Linked DNA regions of Homo sapiens: region 1 is linked to region 2. Evidence: promoter capture Hi-C in 16 types of primary human blood cells and fetal thymus (Javierre and others, 2016). All regions are on one chromosome and are shown on one strand. The core of a region is centred on a gene start or on the middle of the fragment in contact, and the rest is flanking DNA. Distances in the headings are between cores, read along the strand shown. Region 1 overlaps USP35 (ubiquitin specific peptidase 35). Region 2 holds the start of ALG8 (ALG8 alpha-1,3-glucosyltransferase).

Region 1 (4,077 bases), core at 1,158-3,657, 53 kb before region 2:
CTCCCCTCCAATGCTGTATATGGTTCTTGAGGGCAGCTTCAGGTTTTGTTCACCACAGTATCCCCAGCACCTAGCACAGTGCCCAGCAGACAGGCATTTGCTGGATGAGCAAATGCAGGGTGCAGTGTGAGTCATCTCTACCTTACTCCTCTGAGCCATAATAGCCTTCCTTCTGCCCTTCTCCTCCACCTGGCCTGTTTCCTGAAGACTTTGTCCCACACCAACCCACTTTGAGCCCTCTCATGCAGGTTCACATGGGCACAGCTTGCTCTCTTAACATCTAACACGTAATGCCTCTCCTGGAGCGCAGAACCATTTCTTTGCTTCGATGCCCAATCTAGGCAGGACCTGATATAAGACTCAGCAGACAACAGGTGTTTAAACTTATGGGCTCAGTAAAAACTACTCTTATGCCTGAGAACTGGAGCTAGAGTGTGGACAAGCCTTAAATTTCTGGGATAATAAGCTGGAAAGTTTTATTCAGAATCACAGATATTCTGGAACCCCAACTATGTACTAGACCCAGTGAGCTCCCTGCTCTGTTCTAGTTCTCAGCTGTGACCTAACCTCCATTGCTGCACGTGTTACGATACAAAGGGCCCATTTGTTTAAATATCTGTCTCTCTCACCAGGCTGAGCTCCACCAGGAAAGGACCAGGGTTTATTAGTCTGTGGCTAGCATCTCTCATGCCAAGAGTGTGTGCCTCTTAAGAGTTCACTGTTGGTTAGAGGTTGTAACCATGGCAGACATCAGTGGTTCCCAAATCCTGGCCTGCTCAGAAGCCTCAGAATGCCTCAGAAGCACCTGGGCACCTGCTACAAGCTCAGATGCGGCCGGGCGCGGTGGCTCACGCCTGTAGTCCCAACACTTTGGGAGGCCAAGGCAGGCAGATCACTTGAGCCCAGGAGTTCAACACCAGCCAAGGGTGGTGGCGAGCCCAGGAGGTCAAGGGTGAAGTAAGGCAAGATCGTGCCACTGCACTCCAGCCTAAGTGATAGAGTGAGACCCTGTCTCAAAAAAAGAAAAGAAAAAGTTCAGGGTCCACCCGAAGCTTCCTGAATGAGGAAATGAGGGAAATGATGTGTTCGATTCTGGGTTTTGTTGTTGTTGTTGTTGTTTTTGACTCTTTGAATGTGGCTCATCTGGGATACATTCTGGTTCCCATAAAGGTTACTTAGGCTCTCTGAGCTGGGCACAAGGAAGTTCTCAGAAAATGTCAACTCCTGTTGCTTCAGAAGCAAAGTCCTTGCCTTGAAGGAGCTTCCAGTCAGATGGGGGAGGCAGAAATGTTTGTAAGGGTGCCCCTGCAAGGTATAATCTCAAAAGGCCTATAAAGTGTCTTTAAAAACTGGTCTCCCAGCTGGGCACAGTGGCTCATGTCTGTAATCTTAGCACTCTGGGAGGCCGAGGTGGGGAGATGGCTTGAGCTCAGGAGGTTGAGACCAGCCTGGGCAACATGGCAAAACCCCATCTCTACAAAAAAAAAAAAAAAAAATTACATCAATTAGCCAGGCGTAGTGTCTCACACCTGCAGTCCCAGCTAGTTGGGGCTGAGACAGGAGGCTCACTTGAGCTTGGGAGGCGAAGGTTGCAGTGAGCTGAGATCACGCCACTGCACTCCAGCCTGGGTGACTAAGTGAGTTCCTGTTTCAAAAAAGAAAAAAGAAAAAAAATTTTTTTAACTCTCCCTTCAGCCCTGGTCCCCTTTCTAGGCAGTGCCCGTGACAAGGCAGTTGCTGTGGCCAACCTCCCCCACACAAACAGTCCATCCTCCCAGACCCCTGGGATGGCTAGTGGATTTCATATGCTTTCAACCCAGGATGCCAAGAAATCCTGGTACTCAGGCAGCCAAGAAGAAACCCTAATCCATGAGGCACTGGCATCATGTGTGAAGCAAGAGGGCATGGGGGCAGGCAGAAATGGAGTTCTGGAGACAGGGAAGACTCTGGTAGTAGAAAGAGTACTAGAAAGAGTAGAAAGAGTATCAGACTAGGAATGAGGAGTCCTACATTCTAGCCCTGACTCATTGTGTGACCCTCAGTAAATCATACCCATGAGCCTCTTTTCTGTAAAATGGGGACAAATGCTATTAGACTGAACCGCATGAAACCGAATGATCAAATGTTGGCAATTTCATGTTGTTCTACCTAACACCACATAAGCCTGGCAGCTGACAGTTCAAATAGAGCTGCTCCATGAGAGCTCTGATCTCCAAGGCCAGCCGGCAGCCTCTGCTCAGTCCGTAGCCTGGCCACAGCAAGCAAGCCCTGCCCACCTGCCCCAACTCCCACGCAGGCAGTCTGAGGACAGCTGTCACCATGGTCACCAGCAAACCCACTCAATATCTTGCATGCACTCAGACAAAAGGGTTTTAGAGGCTTGCACCTCACCTGGCCCCATCAGGCCAGGGAAGGGAGGACAAGGCCAGCTATCCCACTGGCAGGAATGAAGAAAGTGAGGCTCAGAGAGAGGAACATGGCCTTGGCAAAGCAGGATTAGAACCTGCACTCTGCCTCCCTCAGGAGGGCTGGATTAGCCTGCTAAGCCCCGGGTGAGGAGATGGCCTGTCCATGCTGGCTCTGACTCAAGAGACAGCTGCCCCGCACCAACCGCAGCAGCAAACAGCAGCCATGTCCTCCCCGAGGAGAGCCTGTGTTAAAAGCTGAAGATACAGGTTTTCTGCTTCAAAGTCATGGTGACCTTGGGTGAGCCCCTGCCTGGCTTCTTAGCCTTCTCATCTGGAAAATGGGGACTATTCCAAGCCTACCATTCACAGGGTTGAGACAAGGTATAAAAAAGATGAGGTCCTCATTAACACGGTGAAACCCCATCTCTACTAAAAATACAAAAAATTAGCCGGGCGTGGTGGCGGGCACCTGTAGTCCCAGCTACTCAGGAGGCTGAGGCAGGAGAATGGCGTGAACCCAGGAGGCGGAGCTTGCAGTGAGCCGAGATCATGCCACTGCACTCCAGCCTGGGGGACAGAGCAAGACTCCGTCTCAAAAAAAAAAAAAAAAAAAAGATGAGGGCCGGGCTGTCATGAGTCTATTTTTGGGCCACCTGGCACTGATGGGAGACACAGATACTGTCAGGGAAAGGAGACAAGGAGACACGCACTGCTGATCCTGCTGATTCTCCAAGGCATTTCCTCCATTAGCCCTCCCTGCCACTTCGGTGTTCCCAGCCCCACCCAGGATCAGACCCCTTGACTTCTTGCCTGGACTAGTGCAGTAGCCTCCTAACCCATCTCCCAATTCCCTCCCTCAATCCATCCTCCAACAGAGGCATGTGTCCTAGAGGAGAACAGAGTCCAGGCTTCGAGTCTAGCCCAGCCACCATGGAGGTAGGTGTTCTTTTACCTCTGTGATCCTCGGAATGCCCAAATAGAAGGTGACTACGTGCCCACCCCTTAGCCTTTCCCAGCCAGCGCTGCTGCTCCTCCCAAGCCCTTGCCTCATACCCCTCGCCCTACTGGCATGACAGCCTGAGGGGCGTCCCAGCAACACCAGCACACTCCAAGGCACGCAGTGAGCACTCAGGAAAATCCCAATCCCTCTGCCAAAAGGCCCAGATCCTTTCACCTGTTCCTCTCGGATGACCCTCAACATTTCTGCCGAGTGTTGACTGATCTCTGCTCCTGCACAGTTGAGCCTGACTTATCTCCATCACCCCAAAGCACCCTGTGTGTGTGTGTGTATGTGTGTGTACACAACTCCTATGCTCAGCCCCACTGCCACGCCCTGGGCCCCCGCTCAAGCTTCATCATCCCTCCTTGGTCTCTCCAGATGCAGCATCGTCAGATGGAGCTTATTACACGGTAAGCACCATTCCGTCCATGCCCCTGCTCAGAACTCTCAACACTCTCCAGCCCCTTGGACCCAGAATAAGGTCCAAACTCCTGAGCCGGACATGCAAGCCCTTTCTGTGACACTCAGCTGATGTGGGGCAGGGGTGGAGATGAACTCAAGCAACATTGTTCAGTGGAGACTCTGCAGACATTGGAGCAGGGGGCTTTTTCCTGACTGCTACTTTGCACAATGTCCCCTCTACTGAAAAAGGGCTTTTCCCTCTTCTCT
Region 2 (4,307 bases), core at 1,549-4,048:
CGCCAGATCTATTTTTCATTTTTTACAAGTTTGTTTTTTCTTTTCTTCCTCCTTTGAGATTCTAATGAACATGGTCACACTACAAGTAAAGTCAGAAGTTGGGCAAAGAACATTCTGAAAGCTGCTTTGGTCATCCAAGATTATTAAAAATGCCTGCACTCTAAAAATATGTACAAAGATATAAAGTAGAAACAAAAAATATAGACCAATTTTTCTTTAAAAAATGCTTTTGGCTAGGTGCAGTGGCTCAGGCCTGTAATCCCAGCACTTTGGGAGGCCAAGGCAGGTGGATCACGAGGTCAGGAGTTCAAGACCAGCCTGGCCAACACGGTGAAACCCTGTCTCTCCTAAAAATACAAAAATTAGACAGGTGTGGTGGCATGTGCCTGTAATCCCAGCTACTTGGGAGGCTGAGGCAGAGAATTTCTTAAACCCGGGAAGCAGAGGCTTCAGTGAGCCGAAATTACGCCACTGCACTCCAGGCAATAGAGTGAGACTCCATCTCCAAAAAAAAAAAAAAATGCTTTTAAGAAAAAATGCAAGGCCTTGGAAGTTTTGGTTCTTCTTTCCTCTCCTGTTGCAGATTCACGTTACGGTTTTGGATGGGTGGCAGAAAGTGCATGTCACCTTCGGTGGCACGGTCTGCAGTGGGTGGGCCTCTCTACTGGAAGGTGACCACCTTTAGATACTGAGACAGCAAGTACGAGTGGCCTTCTTTTACCTTCTTTTAACTTATCCTTTTTTGCTGTCTGGTCATCTTCATTGGTCTTCTGCTTCTCGGTGTCAAGATCATCATCATCATCATCTTCAGCTGCCCATTTGACTGTAGCTATTACAGGAAAGTAATCGATTGTAAGGATGGAAGTTGGTTGGAATGATGTGAGGAAGGGGCCAAGGAATGCAGGCAACTTCTAAAAGCTGAAAAAGACAAGAAAAACAATCTCCCTGCAGAGCCTCTGGAAGCAACCAATCCAAATGACACCTTGACTTTACTCCAGTGACTGATTTTAGATTTCTGGTTTACAGAACTGTAAGAGAATAAATTTGTGTTGTTTTAAGCTACTAAGTTTATGGTAATTTCTTACAGCAGAAATAGAAAATTAATGCAAAGTGCCTTTAAAACATCTAAGTAGCTGGGCATGGTGGCGCACAACTGTAATCCCAATACTTTGGGAGGCTGAGGCAGGAAGATCACTTGAGCCCAGGAGTTTGAAACCAGCATGGACAATATAGGGAGATCCCATCTCTACACACACACACACACACGTTGCCACATCCCTGTGGTCCCAGTTACTCAGGAGGCTGAGGTGGGGAGGACTGCTTGAGCCCAGGAGATCGAGGCTGCAGTGAGCTGTGTTTGCACTATTGCCCTCCAGCCTGGGCCACAGAATGAGACCCTGTCTCTCAAAAACAAAACAAAAACATCTACGTGAGGTCAGGTAGCCAACTGGAGACCAGGGTCTGAAAGTGAGAGAAGAGTGCTGAGCTAGAAATCTGTGAATCATATTCACATGGGTGGCAGCTGAAGCTGTGGGAGGGCATAAACTCATATTAGGGAGGTGACACTGTCACCTACTTGCTGTGCATCTTTCAGCAAGATAATTAACTGATCTGACACATTATTGAGCATTTATTCTGTCCTGGAATCATATCAAGCAATTTACATGCATTCTCATTTAATCCTCACAACCAGTTTATGAGGCTGAAACTTTTTTTTTTTTAGACCAAAAGCATCTTGGATAAACAGGCCTGAGGCTTGCCCAGGCTGAAGTGCAATGGCGCGATCTCAGCTCACTGCAACCTCCGCCTCCCACGTTCACGCGATTCTCTAGCTTCAGCCTCCCGAGTAGGTGGAATTACAAGCGCCCGCCACCATGCACGGCTAATTTTTTTTTAATTTTTAGTAGAGACAGGGTTTCACCATATTGGCCAGGCTGATCTCAAACTCCTGAACTCAGGTGATTCGCCCACCTCGGCCTCCCAGTGTTGGGATTACAGGCGTGAGCCACCGCGTCCGGCCAGAAACCATTTTTATCTCCTATTTTCAAAAATAAATAAATAAATAAAAATTTTAAAAAAAGAAACTGAGGTTTAGAGTTTAGTTTGTCCAAGATCATACAGTAAAATAATGAGACAAGCCTAATTAAATTGCATGTGCCTCAGTCATTACGCAATCTGCGAGTTTGTTGGGCCTACTGAATCAGAATCCGAATTATTTTAACATGAACCGTAGGCTATTTGTACACTAAGCGTTAGGACTAGCCTCTACCCTGCTTCCAGAATGGGTTCCGCTCAAGCAGGAGGTGAGCCAAGAGCCTCGCTCAGAGTTCTAAAAACACAATGTTTCTCACCTCTGTATCTTTGCACATGCCATTCTCTAGCTGGATTTAATACTCCGGTGCAAGCGTCCAGGTTGGGAGCCCCCGCAGTTCTCTGAGGTACTTTTATCTACTGTAACTCTAGGGCAACAATCCTGGCTTCTCCACTAGTGCGTGAACGTCTCTAGCGTTAAGTTTTTTTCTCACCTAAGTATCCCCAATACTACACAGTGATGACCCAGCGCAAACGACCACTCTTTCAACGCAAGCATGAACTAGCTGATAAAACTTAAAAGTGGCTACAAACGCCTGCGCAGGAGCCCTTCCGGCCCGGGGTGAGACGCGGGTCTAAAGAAAAGGTGGGCGGGAGGTTTAAATAGCTGACTGCAGTCCCCGGACTGGCTGCGCCGCTCGCCGCATGCGCGCAGCTAGCGGGCACGGCTTCAGAGGGCTTTCTCCGCATGCGCGGGATCCCGGATGTGGATCAAGTTGGTGGGAAGCGTGCGGTGCCGCAGCAATGGCGGCGCTCACAATTGCCACGGGTACTGGCAATTGGTTTTCGGCTTTGGCGCTCGGGGTGACTCTTCTCAAATGCCTTCTCATCCCCACATAGTAAGGGACTCGCACGGCCAGGGGCTGGGCGGGGAGGCCCCGCGGTCGGTCAGGGCGGGAGAGAAAGGTGTGGATATCCCTGGGTATGAAGAGAAAACTTTAGGTCGTGTTTGTCGCTATCCTGCCTTTGCTAAGCTTTCTGTTTCGCCAGTTGTTACTTGACTTAGCCCCAGCTGGCTAGGTTCAGACCTGGCGCTGTCTGATTTGGAACAAATCACTTTAACGTTTCTGAACCTCAGGGTCCTCATCCTTAATAGGCAGTTAAGAACCTCTGCCTCCAACAGCCATTCAGCCAGTATTATCAGATGCCTGAGGTGCCAGGTACCGTTCTAACTCCCGGGAGATGCGGTGGTGAGCAAGACATTGCTGGTCCTTGCCCTCGAAGTTGGTGGGTGGAGCTAGACAAACAGGAACTTTTCAGATTGTGATAAAGGAAATAGAGGGTTACTAAGTGGCTGTGCGCTATTCCTTTAGAAGGTGATGTTTGAGTTGAAATTCAAAAAATGAAAAAGAATAAGTGATGTGGAAAGCAGTTCAGGCATAGGAAAGAGTAAGTTCAAAGGCCCTGTGGCAGGAAAGAAGTCAGAGCATTCTAGGAACAGAAAGTGCCCCTTGTGGCTGCAGAGCATTGAGGGAGAGGAGTGGCACAGCATGGGGTGCACTGGGGACAGATAACACAGGGTTTCGAAGACCACAGTTAGACTGCTGTGTAAAAAATGGATGTAGGGCCAAGACTGAAAGCGTGGAAACCAAGAAGCAACCATGAAATGGTGGTGTGTATACAGTAGGTACTCAGTATTTATTAATATTGGCTTCCGCCTTCCCTTCATCCTTCCTCTTTTTTCTTTTTCTCCCTCATCCCTTTTCTCCTTTCCCTCCCACTTCCTAGTTTAGGGTTTGTTTTATTGGTATCCTTTGATTCAGGCTCTTGGTGATCTCTTGTTGAATATGGGAGAGTCATATGTATAGAATGTAAGTCCATACTGATGCGTATATGTAATCATGTAAGTGGAATGTATATGTAGATTCAGTAAAATGATTAACTGTAGGTCTGTGCATAAGATTATTTCTTGCTTTAGTTGCCTCAGGCTAGAAATGTATCCTCAGAGTTGTTTTTTTTGTTTGTTATTTTTTTTTTTTTTGAGACAGTCTCGTCCCACTCTGTCACCCAGGCTGGAGTACAGTGGCACGATCTCAGCTTACTGCAACCTCTGCCTCCCGGGTTCAAACGATTCTCCTGCCTCAGCCTCCGGAGTAGCTGGGATTACAGGCTTGCACCACCGCGCCAGGCTAATTTTTGTATTTTTAGTAGAGATGGGGTTTCACCATGATGGCGGAGGGCTGATCTCAAATCTCCTGACCTCAAGTGATCCACCT

Evidence for each region. The method cuts DNA at HindIII sites, captures the fragments that hold promoters and counts their contacts. A CHiCAGO score of 5 or more calls a contact.
Region 1: a fragment that was not itself captured here is called in contact with the fragment with the promoter of ALG8 in region 2 in 4 of 17 cell types (total CD8 T cells, naive CD4 T cells, non-activated CD4 T cells and 1 more); the score reaches 6.9 in total CD8 T cells.

Annotation. Positions count from the first base shown.
Region 1 is chr11:78,190,787-78,194,863 of GRCh38, reverse strand. The region is part of intron 1 of USP35 (ubiquitin specific peptidase 35); the gene reads right to left. Among named protein-coding and RNA genes, the nearest start is that of USP35, 3.9 kb to the right of the region's middle. The HindIII fragment of the contact is 2,706 bases long and covers 1,055-3,760 here.
Region 2 is chr11:78,138,117-78,142,423 of GRCh38, reverse strand. It overlaps ALG8 (ALG8 alpha-1,3-glucosyltransferase), which reads left to right and starts at 2,798. Exons shown (of 13, transcript NM_024079.5): 1 at 2,798-2,930. The coding sequence starts at 2,836. It overlaps KCTD21-AS1 (KCTD21 antisense RNA 1), which reads right to left and starts at 2,631. Exons shown (of 3, transcript NR_102281.1): 1 at 2,352-2,631. RefSeq lists enhancers at 1,355-2,065, 2,226-2,335, 2,946-3,025, 3,106-3,215. The HindIII fragment of the contact is 5,506 bases long and covers 1-3,067 here.